Regions from separate parts of the Homo sapiens genome. Here regions 2 and 3 are each linked to region 1. Evidence: promoter capture Hi-C in 16 types of primary human blood cells and fetal thymus (Javierre and others, 2016). All regions are on one chromosome and are shown on one strand. The core of a region is centred on a gene start or on the middle of the fragment in contact, and the rest is flanking DNA. Distances in the headings are between cores, read along the strand shown.

What was found. Contacts are between HindIII fragments. The CHiCAGO score rates a contact against its expected background, and 5 or more counts as called.
Region 2: a fragment that was not itself captured here is called in contact with the fragment with the promoter of STAC in region 1 in 2 of 17 cell types (M0 macrophages and M1 macrophages); the score reaches 5.3 in M0 macrophages.
Region 3: a fragment that was not itself captured here is called in contact with the fragment with the promoter of STAC in region 1 in 1 of 17 cell types (M2 macrophages); the score reaches 5.3 in M2 macrophages.

The regions. Positions count from the first base shown.
Region 1 is chr3:36,377,884-36,382,828 of GRCh38, forward strand. It overlaps STAC (SH3 and cysteine rich domain), which reads left to right and starts at 2,621. Exons shown (of 11, transcript NM_003149.3): 1 at 2,621-2,871. The coding sequence starts at 2,761. All of the region lies in intron 2 of LOC124906227 (a long non-coding RNA gene), which reads right to left. The HindIII fragment of the contact is 3,341 bases long and covers 1-3,249 here.
Region 2 is chr3:36,534,247-36,539,191 of GRCh38, forward strand. The region is part of intron 10 of STAC (SH3 and cysteine rich domain); the gene reads left to right. Among named protein-coding and RNA genes, the nearest start is that of STAC, 160 kb to the left of the region's middle. The HindIII fragment of the contact is 2,107 bases long and covers 1,592-3,698 here.
Region 3 is chr3:36,515,772-36,520,716 of GRCh38, forward strand. All of the region lies in intron 8 of STAC (SH3 and cysteine rich domain), which reads left to right. Among named protein-coding and RNA genes, the nearest start is that of STAC, 140 kb to the left of the region's middle. The HindIII fragment of the contact is 1,457 bases long and covers 2,188-3,644 here.

The DNA.
Region 1 (4,945 bases), core at 1,371-3,870:
GTACACTTCTGCTCAGGGATATCAATGCTTCATGAGGGGTACTCTGGGGATCACTTTGCTGGTCTACCATCTACTGACTCAAAGCACTGACAAATCCCATTGTTTTACAGAAGCATTCAGAGTCTTCTTCCATTCAGTTTGTGGAGGACACATGCAATAATTAATGCCTAGACCATTTCTAGAGCTCAGGGGCTACAAGGGTAGCCTCTTTTCACCACCTTGTTAACAAGCATTATACCAGGAGCTAGAGAAACAAGATGAACATGGCATTGCCCCTGCCCTAGGGGAGATCATAGCCCAACAGAAGAGCAGGCAACCTTGTCATTGATTACTTAGGAAAGGAAGTCATGGGAACATGGCATTGATTTGGGAATCTAAATCAGATAAATGGGTCAAGGAAGGAGATGTCAAGAGTAGTAAATACTTGGATATGTGATTTGAAGAATAAGATAAGTTAGCTAGATAACAAAAGATCGGATAGAAAATAATGTGAAACTAACACATAAACAAAGGCGTGATTTAGTTTGGGACACCATGGCTAATTCCTATGGTAGGTATTATTTATCAGACTAAGGATTTCTGCTGCTGGATCAGGGTGGGGTGGAAAGGAAGGAGGTACTAGCTTCTCTAAATTTCCTTCAAGGGACAACATTTAAACATATACTATTGGCTAATACTGTTGCTAACTTGAGCTAAGCACTTACTAAAAGTAAGGATGACATCTTCAATTCTTAAAAAAAGAAAATCCAAAAGAAAAAAAGGATGAAAAATTTATTGTTCTAAGCCATGACATGCTTGCTCACCAAGACTGGAATTGCCAGTAGACCCTGGGAGTTTTGTTTCCTAAGAAAACCCTCGTCTGGCCCCATGCTAGCTCAGGCTTCATTTGTACACACTCATCAAAGTCTTGTACTTTCCCTTATCATAGTTTTTTTTTAAATGTGTGTGTGATTTAATTAATTGCTGTCTCTCCCACTAGACTTAAATTCCAGGAAAACAGACTTAATCTGTGTTTTCTCTCTGCTGTATCATTAGTTTCTGGCACAATTCTGATACAGAATAGATGCTTGATAAAAATGTGTTGATATGGCTGCTCCTGTCATTGTGTTTGTGACTTTGGCTACTAGAATTCTGTCTCTATCGAACACTCAGGCATTGTGTTGTGAGAAGGAAAAAGCTGAAGCCATTTGGGCTAGCCAATCTGGCCCCGTACTGAGGGTCACCAGAAAATTTAGAGCATTTTGAAAGCTAAATGCTGAGTAAGAGGCTGACACATTGAACAGTAGCTTTCAATTGACATCTGGGATGGAAAGAGTAAGAGCAAGTTTATTCTAAAAGACATGAGCTAGGGCATGGATGCAGGACCAAACACATAATTTGCAGGGTCAAGTACAAAATGAAAATGTGATCTCTTGTTAAATATTTTTACCGAATTTCAAGATGGCAGCATCAGCGCGGGGCCCTGTGTGACTGCACAGGTTGCACATCCATGAAGCTGTTCTTGCAAACATCTACAGCTAATTTTAAAAATCTGAACAGAAGTTTGCAATTTTGTTTTAAAAAATTGAGGGTATTTTGTATTAATGGGGGAAAAGAGGCTTTTAAATATCTAGGTGTGTTTCTTTTCCCTGCACACTGAGGTTGTCTTCAAAAGAAACTGGACCCTCTGTATCTTTATTCAGTGGGGCTATTCCTATGTTTCCAAAAGATTTAGTAAGGCAGGCTGGTTTGCCCCTCTGTGAACAGTCCTCAACTCTTGCTATACTGCAACATCCAATTGCTCTTCAGCCAAGACCTGGCCTAGATTTGAGGCTCCACAGTCGGAAATGCATGGATTTTGAAGCCCAAATGTGTTCGAATTCCAGTTTCACCAATTATAGTTTAGTGACTTAAAGCAAATTACTCAGTCTTCCTACAGCCTCAACTTCCTCATCTATAAAATGGAAGTGATAATCCCTAGACGCATAGAGTAGCTGGGAGGATTAAATAAGGTAAAAAGAAAGGGTTTAGTACAATAAGTGCACAACAAACGAGGAACAGGTGTCCATATACACACTGCATTATCTCTCTGCTTTAGATCAAAGCTGAATGGAGAAAACGCAGTGCCCGTGAGTCAGGGGACCCCCACTCCGACCCCTGCTCTCTGTCACTGAACCCTATAAATAGCTTAGCTAAGTCACTGTCTCAGTCACTATTCGTTGGGGTGAGGAATGAGGGAGTTGTTGCAAGTGGCTCTTTCTGGCTATATCATTCACAGATTTTCTATTCTTTGGGGTTTGGGTCTGAATTTTCAGCATCCTCTCTGAAGAATCACCCCCACCCAGTGCCGGCGTGCGCCCAGCCTTCCCCCAGCCCTTTCCAGGGCGCTGCCCCCTGCCTGCCCTCACTACTCCAGGCGCTGGCCGCGCAGCCCCGCCCTGGAGCTGCCTCCCCGCCTCCTTCCTCCTCCTGCGGGCGAGCAGAAGCCCGCTCGCCCGCTGCCGAGTGGCAGTCACGACTGTGAGGTCGCCGGCGAGGTGGCCGCGGGCGCGGCGGGGCGGGGCAGGGCGCACTCTCCTCCACGCCCGCGGAAGTGCCGGGGAGGTGGGCAGGGCGGGGAGGGAGAGGGAGCGAGGCTGGAGGAGGGCACGTCGGCGCCTCGGCGAGGATGGGAGTCCCCAGGACCCGGAGCTGAGCAGCCTGGCGCGCGGCGGGCAGGGCGCGCAGGACAGAAGCCTCGCTGTTCCTCCGGGAGCCCAACACCGTTCCCGCGCGGCCACGATGATCCCTCCGAGCAGCCCCCGCGAGGACGGCGTGGACGGGCTGCCCAAGGAGGCGGTGGGCGCCGAGCAACCGCCCTCTCCTGCATCCACCAGCAGCCAGGAATCCAAGGTACCGAGCACGCTTGCCCCCAAGAGAACACAAACTCACTCTCCTCTCCTGTCGGTCCAGCTTTGTCTCTCCTCCTATCTAGCACGGGCGTGGGGGTCTGAGACTTGCTAGTTAGCCCAGGGCTGTAGGACTTGAACGTCCGGTAGGACCCGCTGCTCACGATGCTGGACCACGTCCCTGTGGACCCAGCCTTCCCGCCCACACATTCACACACGCAATTCATGGTGGCTCCGGGTTCAGAGATCGATTTCTTGCGGGGTGGTAGCTTGGTTTTTTTTGTGCTTTGAACCTGCTTGTGTCCAAAGCACGTGTAGGTAGGTATTAGGTGGCTTCTGAAGGCTGAGGGATGGAGACAGCCGAGGGATACTCTTCCAGAAAAGCTTGAGTACTGGGCCAGAAAAGCATGTATGTATCCCAAGGGTCTCAGAGACCTTTTGCTTAACAGGGATCACCCCTACCTTCAGATACTACTCACTAAAAAAGAAAAAGAAAAAGAAAGGGTTTGCCTGCGTTTGTCTGAAAGTTGATGTTCCTCTTGTGAAAGTTAATACTCTAAGAACCTATACTTGCTTTTATGAAAGTTACACTAACACGTATACAAAAAACCAAGCCCGCAGCAGTTCTCCTGTCACTGTTACACTTCCTCTGAAACTCCCGTGGGTGCCAGGCACATGTTTGAAAATCTTGGAAGAGGATAGAGTAAAATGTGGCTGCTAGCAGTGCAATGCCAAATGGCAACTCAGCTGGTGGTGGAAATCCTAAGATGGAGTTTGTAGTTATGTGGATTCTTTTAAGTGTAGAGCTCCTGGCTCTTTATTCTGATTTCATTGTGCGATCCCCAGGCATTTGGGGAATGTGAGGCAGTCCGTGTATACCAGCAAAGGAAAGGGGTTGCCAGTTTATAGGATAGGGACAGGCCAGATGGGGCAAGGAAGACTGCGATCCTGTCTCTCTTCACATGCATCCCTGGAAGCCATTGATATGATCAGGAGGATGAAAATCACAGCCTGAGTGGCTCTGGGGATTTGGTGTGATACTGGGCACTGTACATTTCCCAGCCCCCTGAAGTTAACCATCAATGATGGTAATCTAAGCCCGAAAGCTTTACATCTTATTTATTTTTATTTTTTTCCTGTTACTTACTGGCTGCCAGACCTGGGGTATGTGTGTCAACTTTTCTAAAACTCGGTTGGAAATGAGGGAAAAAGCCCCAACTTCCAGAGACATTGTGAGGAGTACATGAGAGGCCCTAATGTCCACCTGGTATACTGTAAGGACTCAATCATGTTTATCCTTTTCCTTCCTGAGATAAAGAGATGGAATCTATCTCATCTCAAATGATCCACTCCAAAGCAATCTGATAACCCATACACATGCACTACCTCTCCTCAGTCAAAAAGTTTCTGGGTATCATTGCCTCCCATTGAACATCAGTCCCCAGAGTGATATAGGTTAGTGGCCATTTTAGAGGAAAGCTAGAATTCTATAAATGAATGTAGCTGAACTCAAGAGTAAAACTAGTATTGAACTTTTTGAATTGGCCTGTTGCTCTGCAGTAGGCGTGTTCTGGAAAGGGCTTAGCATTTGGGCAAACAGTGGCATGGTTCAAATGCATTATATGGATTTGCTATTTATAGATGTCCTAATGGAAATTATTTGGCAGAGCAAAAGCCACATATGTAATGCCCATAATTATCCACCAATTTATCTGGCTTATGGTTTTGTACAAATTAGTTTTTCTCAAAGTGGTCTATACACCGGATGTGTGTTTCTACATTCCTAAATTTGATGTCATGGCCTCAGTAAGCTTAATTAGTGGAGATGAACTATGGCAGCCCATGAACCCTAGGAAATTGAATGCAATATTGTATGCCTACATGTGAATTTTTCTTGGCATAGCATTCATGATATTCTCAAAGTGATCCATGCCCCTTAAAAAAGGCTAAACTGCTAGTAGGGAGGAACGTGTGGTAAGGTAAGGGAGTAGGATGGCATGACACTGGAGGAGAGGAAGGCTCAATTCATTCTATTCTAGGAAGGCCACATGTTAAAGCTTACTGGCGTTTACAAGGAT
Region 2 (4,945 bases), core at 1,395-3,894, 160 kb after region 1:
TGATGTGAGAGTTAAATGTGCTCACCTATATAAAGCCTTAGCACAGTGCCTGGCCACCACAAATGCATAGCAGAAGTCATTTTCCTGGCTACCGTTATCACTAAAGAGTAAAGCCTAAATGAGGAATTCATCTGCAGTGGTTAATGCCACCTAAACTTACCCAGTAAGCACCAGAAAATAGCCAATATGATATTTATAACCCTACAAATATGAAGAGACAAATGGACATTAACAAGAAAATAAAAGAAATTTGATTCTAAAGATAAATGCAATGCACATCTTTGATTAAATCACATTTTCTACTTCTGGGGTTAATCTGTCTCATAATTATTGTATTTTTTTTTTGCAGAGCTCTTGTTTCCAAATATAGTTATCCATTTGTTATGAACACAATGAGAGTTTGCATTGATACAAGTATGTTTTCTGTTTCCTCCTCCTCCTTTTCCTCCTCTTCCTCCTCCTCCTTGTTGTTCTTCTTCATCTTCTTTTTGTGAGGCAGGGTCTCACTCCCTAGGCTCAGGTAATCCTCCCACCTCAGCCTCCCAATCAACTGGGACCACAGGTGTGCACTACCATGCCCAGATGATTTTTGTATTTAATGTAGAAGTGGGGTTTTGACATGTTGCTCAGGCTGGTCTCGAAGTCCTAGACTCAAGTGATCCCCAGCCTCCCAAAGTACTAGGATTACAGGCATAAGCCACTGCACCTGGCCTCTTCATTTTTAAATTTTAAAATGTATCCTTATTAAATCGACTTTAAAATACCATAAAACATTTCTTTAATGGGAATAACATTGAATCTATAAATTACTTTGGGGAGTATGGCCATTTACATGATACTTTTTCTTTCTATCCATGAGCATGGGATGCTTTTCCATTTGTTTGTGTCCTCTCTTACTTCCTTGAGCAGTGGTTTGTAGTTCTCCTTGAAAAGATCCTTCACTCGCCTTGTTAGCTGTATTCTAGGTATTTTAGACTCTTTGTAGCGATTGTGAATGGGAGTTCATTCACGATTTGGCTCTCTGCTTGTCCGTTGTTGGCGTATAGTAATGCTTGTGATTATTGAACATTGATTTTGTATCCTGAGACTTTGCCAAAGCTGTGAATCAGCTTAAGAAGCTTGGGCTGAGATGATGGAGTTTACTTGATATAGGATCATGACATCTGCAAACAGAGACATTTTGACTTCCTCTCTTCCTATCTGAATACCTGTTGTTTCTTTCTCTTGCCTGATTGCCCTGGCCAGAACTTCTAATACTATGTTGAATAGAAGTGGCGAGAGAGGGCATCTTTTTTGTGCCAATTTTCAAGGAGAATGCTTCCAGCTTTTGCCCATTCGGTATAATATTGGCTGTGGGTTTGCCATAAATGGCTCTTATTATTTTGAGGTACGTTCCTTCAATACCTAGTTTATTGAGAGTTTTTAAAATGAATGGACGTTGAAATTTATTGAAGGCCTTTTCTGCATCTATTGAAATAATCATGTGGTTTTTGTCTTTAGTTCTGTTTATATGTGAATTACATGTATTGATTTGCATATGTTGAACCAGCCTTGCATCCCAAGAATGAAGCCAACTTGATCATGGTGAATAAGCTTTTTGATGTGCTGCTGGATTCAGTTTGCCAGTATTTTACCAAGGATTTTTACATCGATCTTCATCAGGGATATTGGCCTGAAGTTTTCTTTTTTTGTTGTGTCTCTGCCAGGTTTTAGTACCGGGATGATGCTGGCCTCACAAAATGAATTAGGGAGGGGTCCCTCCTTTTCAATTGTTTGGAATAGTTTCAGAAGAAATGGTACCAGCTCCTTTTTGTACCTCTGGTAGAATTCAGCTGTAAATCTGTCTGGTGCTGGGCTTTTTTTGGTTGGTAGGCTATTTGTTACTGCCTCAATTTCAGAACTTGTGATTGGTCTATTCAGGGATTCAACTTCTTCCCAGTTCAGTCTTGGGAGGGTGTATGGCCATTGACATTCTTCACAGAATTAGAAAAAAAAACTACTTTAAAATTCTTATGGAACCAAAAAAGAGCCTGTATAGACAAGGCAACCTAAGCAAAAAGAACAAAGCTGGAGGCATCCCGCTACCTGGCTTCAAGCTATACTACAAGGCTACAATAACCAAAACAGCATGGTACTGGTACAAAAACAGATACATAGGCCAGTGGAACAGTATAGAGGTCTCAGAAATAAGACCACACATCTACAACCATCTAATCTTTGACAAATCTGACAAAACCAAGCAATGGGGAAAGGAGTCCCTATTTAATAAATGGTGCTTGGGAAGTGGGCTAGCCATATGCAGAAGATTGAAGATGGACCCCTTTCTTACACCTTATACAAAAATTAACTCAACCATTCAGGACATAGGCACAGGCAAAGACTTCCTGACGAAAACATCAAAAGCAATTGCAACAAAAGCAAAAATTGACAAAGGGGATCTAATTAAACTAAAGAGCTTCTGCACAGCAAAAGAAACTATCAGAGTGAACAGACAGCCTACAGAATGGGAGAAAATTATTGCAATCTACCCATATGACAAAGATCTAATATCCAGAATCTACAAAGAACTTAAACAAATTTACAAAAAAAACAAGAAAACAAAAAACAAAAAAAAAAAAACCCCAATAAAAAGTGGGCAAAGGACAAGAACAGACACTTCTCAAAAGAAGATATTTATATGGCCAGCAAACATATGAAGAAAAGCTCAACATCACTGATCATTAGAGAACTGAAAATCAAAACCACAAAGAGTACCATGTCACTCCAGTCAGAATGGTGATTATTAAAGAGTCAAGAAACAGCAGATGCTGATGAGGCTGTGGAGAAATAGGAATGCTTTTACACTGTTGGTGGGAATGTAAATTAAACCATTGTGGAAGATAGTGTGGCAATTTCTCAAAAACCTAGAACCAGAAATACCCTTTGACCCAGCAATCCCATTACTGGGTATATACCTAAAGGAATATAAATCATTTTATTATAAAGATAAATGCATGCATATGTTCATTGCAGCACTATTCCCAATAGCAAAGACATGGAATCAACCCAAATGCCCATCAATGAAAGACTGAATAAAGAAAATATGGTACACATACACCATAGAATACTATGCAGCCATAAAAAGGAATAAGATCATGTCCTTTGCAGGGACATGGATGGAGCTGGAAGCCATTATCCTCATCAAACTAATGCAGGAACAGAAAACCAAACACTGCATGTTCTCAGTCATAAATGGGAGCTGAACAATGAGAACACATGGACACAGGGAGGGAACAACACACACTAGGGCCTGTTGGGGCAGGGGCGTGGTGGGGTAGTGAGAGGGAGAGCATCAGGATAAAAATATAATGCACGTGGGCTTAATACCTAGGTGATGGGTTGATAGGTGCAGCAAACCACCATGGCACACATTTACCTATCTAACAAACCTGCACATCCTGCACATATATCCTGGAACTTAAAATAAAATAAAAATTTTTAAAAAGAAAACAAAAAATACTGATCTAAAAAGTGGACTTTAAAATACTTAGGAAAATTAACTAAGTCCATAAATTGAATATTTATGTGGAATTCAGTCTATTTTACTCTAGTTGACCAAACATTAATTAAAGATCCTCCTGAAAAAAAATTATTTAAATTGATGCATAGTTTTATTGCACCTATAGAACCATTTTCATTTATTATTTGTGTTCTATCAAAGCTTTAAAAAAAAACAGAAAAAAATATTTTATATTACAAAACCAAAATGCATTTATTTTGGAGAAAATTTGAGGGAAAATATTTTTAAGAGGTATAAAAGATAAAATAGAGACCATAAGCAATTCAACCATTAAATTATTACCAACATAAACACTGGCATATTTCATGTCAAACTTTTAATTCATATTTTGATATCATATCCTCTTTAGTTTCCTAACATTTAAAAAATTTAGTCATTAAATGTTTATCAAAACACAGGTTTTAAGAAAGTTTTATTAGAACATAGCTAAATTTATTCATATATATATGGTCTGCGGCTGCTTTCATGCTACAACTAAATAGCTGAGTTGAGTCACTGCAACAGAGACCAGATGGCCTGCAAAGCCTACAATATTTAGCATTTGGCCCTTTATAGAAAAAGTTTGCCAATCCTTAGTCTAGATGTACAGGAATGTGTTTAAGTTTCTCTTGTTATTGGATATTCAGAGTTTTTATTTTTAAAACTGTTATTGATAACTGCAATGAACATCTCTGAACATAAATATTTGTCTCTAACTCTGATTATTTTCTTAGGATGTACTTTGGAATTTAGCGGAAAACAGATCAAGACGTGTACAATTCTTGATGCATACTGCCAAATTGCATTCAGAAAGGTCGTGCCAACTTACACACTCACACCAGATGTTCATGAGCATATCCAGATCATCACATGCTTGCAAGAATTTAACATTATTATTTTTTGTTATGTCAGTTTGATAGATTAATAATATTTCATGCTAATCTGCATTTTCTGGATGGTTAAAGAGGCTTACATTTTATCTCATATATATAGGGCATTTTTTAAAATAATCTATTTATGTACTTTGCCCATTTTCTTACATTATTTAAAAAGTTTTCTACCTTTGAAGAATATTTATGTCTGCTGTACCACATGTGACCAATATTTTCTCTAGTTTATCATTTGCCCTTCACTCTCAATGCCTCTTTCTCCAGGAGCTTAATCATTCTTTGGTTGGATCATTTCTGGTTTACCATGTTTCCTTTATAGTTTTAGTGTCTTTATTATTTTACACTTCTCTATCTCTCTCTGATTCCTCCCAAGAGACTGTTTCAAGATAGTCCTCACTTCACTTTGATTTTTCTGAAGTTTCAATTCAGTCTTTCATTGCTTCTAATACATGTTAGTTTAGTATTTATTTCCCGGTAGACTTTTCTTCTCAGTCAGCCCCTTTCTTCTACAGAATAT
Region 3 (4,945 bases), core at 1,666-4,165, 140 kb after region 1:
TATATTGTCAGGGTGAGATTCAACAGAACTCTGTTTTAGGGTAGAGTTTGGGGCCCACAAGGAATTTCCTTGTGAGCAATTTGAGGGAGCCCACCTGGGGAGATATGTGGCCTTCTATCTTTGCAACTATCCGTTTAGGAACAAAAAGGAAGGCAGTTGTTGCGTGACTCAGATCCCAAGCTTAACAGTTTTTCATTTTTCTCCTTTTTTTTTTTTTTTTTTTTTTTTTGAGACAGAGTTTCACTCATGTTGCCCTAGCCAGAGAGCAGTGGCGCAATCTTGGCTCACTGCAACCTCCACCTCCCAGGTTCAAGTGATTCTCCTGCCTCAGGCTCCCAAGTAGCTGGGATTACAGGCACCTGCCACCACGCCCCACTAATTTTTGCATTTTTAGTAGAAACGGGGTTTCATCATGTTGGCCAGGCTGGTCTCAAACTCCTGACCTCGTGATCCTCCCGTCTCAGCCTCCTAAAGTGCTGGTATTACAGGCGCGAACCACCGTGCCCAGCCCTCATATTTTCCCTTTGACATAGTGAGCTTAGAGTCCTGAGATTTTATTTTCCTTTCACAAGAGGAAGAGCTGGTTGCTGCCCTCTTGTTCTTAGGTGAGTGAATACTTTTCTTAGAAGTGCCATGGACCCATCATTAGTCTCCAAATCCCATATAAAGGCAGAGACTTTATACAGTCTCCTTTGCTACAGTTCCAGTGCAAAATAAACTTCCTTTATTTTTTTTCACACTGCCATGAAAAATTAGAAATAAACTTCCTTTATAAATTAATTTGCTATTTCCCACCTAAACCTCTGGAGGTAATGCAGACCATGATAATTCTCTATCTTTCCACCATCAAGGGCAGAGAGCAGGACAGCAAGCTGGCAAGACAGAAAAGAGAAATTTCTGGCAGTCAGATAGGCCTGGGTCTAGTTTCCAACTCTGACACTATCTGTGTCAATTTTAGCAAACTGTTTAATCTTTTAGAGCCTCAGTTTTCTCCTTCCTAGGAAGACTGGGTATTAAACAGGATAATATAAATAAAATGTGGAATTTCATGCCCAGTACAAAGTGAGGTCACAGTAGATTTTAGATACCTTCTCTTCATAATTACATCTTTTCACAATGTATTTTCTCTCCTAGTCTTCTGAACAACCTCATTAACACCACCCTAAGGATATAGAGTAGAGAAAACACAGTTAAAGACTCTCCCTTTGAGCAGGCCCAATGAGACCTTGTCCAACTGGTCCAGCAAAAAGGGGCTGTGATATCCAATATTTATCTTGGGAGCAGGTTTTGCAGTTGCTGACATGATGAGCTATAATATGAAATTTTATCACTGATACCCAAGCTGTGATGCCATCATGCATGGGGTCTCGAACATTGCTGACAATTTGAGGCCTGATAACATTAAAGGGCTACCCAGGTTCTCCTATCAGGGTATAGCAGGGTGGTATAGTGGATAATCTCCTGAAATTAAGAGTCTTGGACAGGTTCCACCAATTACCCTTATTATCAACTTTTTTGAAGAGCCCTGAAAATTACACTTTATGGACTGCCAGTTTAATTCATGAACAAAGCTCTTAAATGCTGCTAAAAATACATGGCCAAGTGCAGTGGCTTATGCCTGTAATCCCAGCACTGTGGGAGGCCAACGCAGGTGTATTGCTTGAGCCCAGGAGTTCAAAACCAGCCTGCGCAACATGGAAAGACACCATCTCCACAAAAATAGAAATAAAAAATTAGCCAAGCATGGTGGTGCATACCTGTAGCCCTAGCTCTTCAGGAAGCTGAAGCAGAAGGATCACTTGAGCCCAGGAGGTTGAGGCTGTAGTGAGCTATGAACACACCACTACACTCCAGCCTGAATGACAGAGCTAGACCCTATCTATCTATCTATCTATCTAAATTAATTAATTAATGAAAATAGAATACAAACTGGAGAACCCTATTATAATCAGCACTGTTGTCATTATTATCATATACTGCTCTGTGAATTAACATAGACCATATGTCACATCATCCTTCTGGCCAAGTGGGTGTGTACATGTGTGTGATACACTTATACATGTAAATAACCTCCCACACACACTCACAGTCACACACACACACATACATGCACATACACACACACTTATACACATTCAAGTACACATTCATTCACACACACACAAGCACACACACATTGTTAGCCAAAGCTTGATAACCCACACTTAGTTTTGATGAAATTAAATCCTGCCTTCAACACTTACAACGTAACCAGTCACATTATCCTCACTGCTTTTGGGCTCAGCAGTCTGCAAAACAGAGTCTTGGAGTTATCACTTATTATTCACACCAAGGCACCTTTTTTAAGCTGATAAAAACTTTTCAATCAACAATGACTTTCATGACTTTGCTGAGTTGATATTTTATGTAAATAATCAGCAGATATAAATGACTTCAAGTAAACATAAACTCCTAAAACATCTTAGGGACACTGTAACAAAGGATTGAGAGTAAATAAAAGATTTAAAGGTTTAAATGCATATTTTAGCAATCATACAATGCCTGTTCCAAATAATTAATTTTGACTTCCCACATCTAAATCATTTTCGTTTTTATTAGCTCTCCTCAAACAGATTTATATGATAATGGCCATTTTTCATAAGGGTAGAAAAAAGAAGGAAAAAAAAAGACTATAAGCCAAGAGAGGAAAAGAGGGAACTGCTCTTTCAGTATTATTAAATCCTAAAATAAATACAAATTAATTACTACTTCAATGTATGTCAGAACACCTAAATTTGGGGGGCTTCAAAGAAAACCTATCTTCTTTTGTAACGCCAAGTGCAAATTTAGATTCATGAACGGCCGCTCCTGGAAGCAGCAAGTCTCAGATTCTCCATGGGCAAGTCTGAATGAAAGCAAGCAATCATTTCTCCCATTAGTTAGTATTTGCCAGAATTTCTGGAGATGGGATGGCCTGAATTCATCTCTTTGGGGTATTTTCAAAGCACTACTTTAAAAAGAGTTAAAAGTGATGTGAACTCTTGTATGCTATTTCCAGGATTTACTTCATCTATTCACCTCTCATCGCATGATAGCCAAGCATCTGCTCTTTTCTGGGAGAACCATTCACAGGCCCTGTTCTCAAAGAGCTCAGGCAGTCATGGGCCAGGGGACCAGCAGAAGAGTAGATCAGAAGTTACAATCCAGTGTGCAGGGCTGTGGGTGTGAGGTAGCCCAGGTAACTTACAGCAGCCTCAAAGGGACGTGAAAGAAGCTGGGATTCCAGAAGGAAGAGGGGTCATGGGTGGCTGGGAAGCCTTGTTAGTGAGCAGTCACTCTCTCTCCAGTGAGGAAAGCATAAGGGAATAATGGGGTTAAACTTCAGAACCAGATAATTACTTTAAGAGGTGCCAAATCAGGGGCAAAGGCAAGCCCCATTACAAAAAGAGGTGGTGAAAATTCATGGCAGAGGCAGGAGCATATTTAGATAACTACATTAATTCCAGTCTTGATTCTGAAAGACTGCCTTAAAACTTGGCAATGCTTAGTGAATGGACGCTTGGCTGTTTAGCTCATATTCCAGTGAGAAAATGTATGGTTCTTTTTTCTCTTTCTGGAGGTGAGGTAGGAGAACCAAGCCCAATAATTTACAGGTAGAAAATGGAAGCTTAGGACTAGAACCCTTGGAGGTGACTCCCAGTCCACTGATCTTTCTCCTCCACCACACTTTTGATCCTAGGTTCATTGTTCTAAGTTTTCTCTCTGATAAAGCTGACAATTCTATTTTAATCAGCAAGAGTAGGTAACACTTTATCCCTTTTTGGCCCCTCACATCACTTATTTTAAGTGCATTAGGTTTGTTAAGTATGGTTGCTAAGACCAGGAAGTTTGTGATCTACAGAGCATGTTACTGAGAAGTCACTCCGGTTAAAGGATAATTTTTTAAATTTAAGATAAAAACATGACTCTCGTGCAATATAAATTGAACACATGTCAGAATTTTTACATGGCTCATTAATTAATGAGAGAACCAGTAAGATGCTCCACCTTGTTCAAATGAGAACTCAATATATCACATATACATAGGCAATGAGGAATGCTGACAGGAATTTACAAATAGATGCAAAACCAGTCAGTAGTCACAGGATAAAGGGTAATAACTGACTATATTCCACCAGGCAAAGTTCACTTGCATTTCTTTGGACAAAAATCATTTGCATTAATATCAGTTTTCTACGACTTGCTTGAGATGTAAAATAGCTCAAAGGCATTGAAAAAGGGGAGGTAATCTGAAAGGATATGCCAGACGGGACATCCAGATCAGTCATGTTTTTTGCCCATTTCAAAGTCTTTCATAATTTTTCCTAGCATCCTCTTGAGTTCTTTTAATAAATCTCAGAGGTTACCCAAGCAAGTAGTATTTCACAGAGGAGAAAACTTGAGTTAGAATGGTTAAGTCACTTGTTGCAAGCCATAAGAATCTCCTAAAAAATATTATTAAAATAGAGATTCCTGGGCTTCACCTAGACCTAGAGAGTCAAATCCTACTTGGAAATCTGTATGGTTAAATGTCCTCCTGGATTCTGATTATCTGCACTATCTGAGAACAACTGTGACTTATCCAAAGATAGGCAGTGGGCCAGTGGCAGACTCAAAAACCAGAACAGAGGTTTCCCGATTCTGTCAATGCTCTGTGCACAGGTCTGCATTGGCTTTCTGACCTGTGACTTGTGTACATTCTAATGTCCTTCACCCTGCAAGGTTTCAAGGCAGAGTAAGACAGAATAAGGCTCCCTTGGTGTCTCGTTTCTATTCTCTAAGTACATTACTGCTTGGCAAATGCATCAACTTAATTAAAACTAAATGTAATTCTAATGCACCAATTTGATTTAAAAATAATCTTCACAGTCACCAGGACATCAAAATGCAATTAAGGCTATTTGAGGAAAGTCTCTGATGCATATTA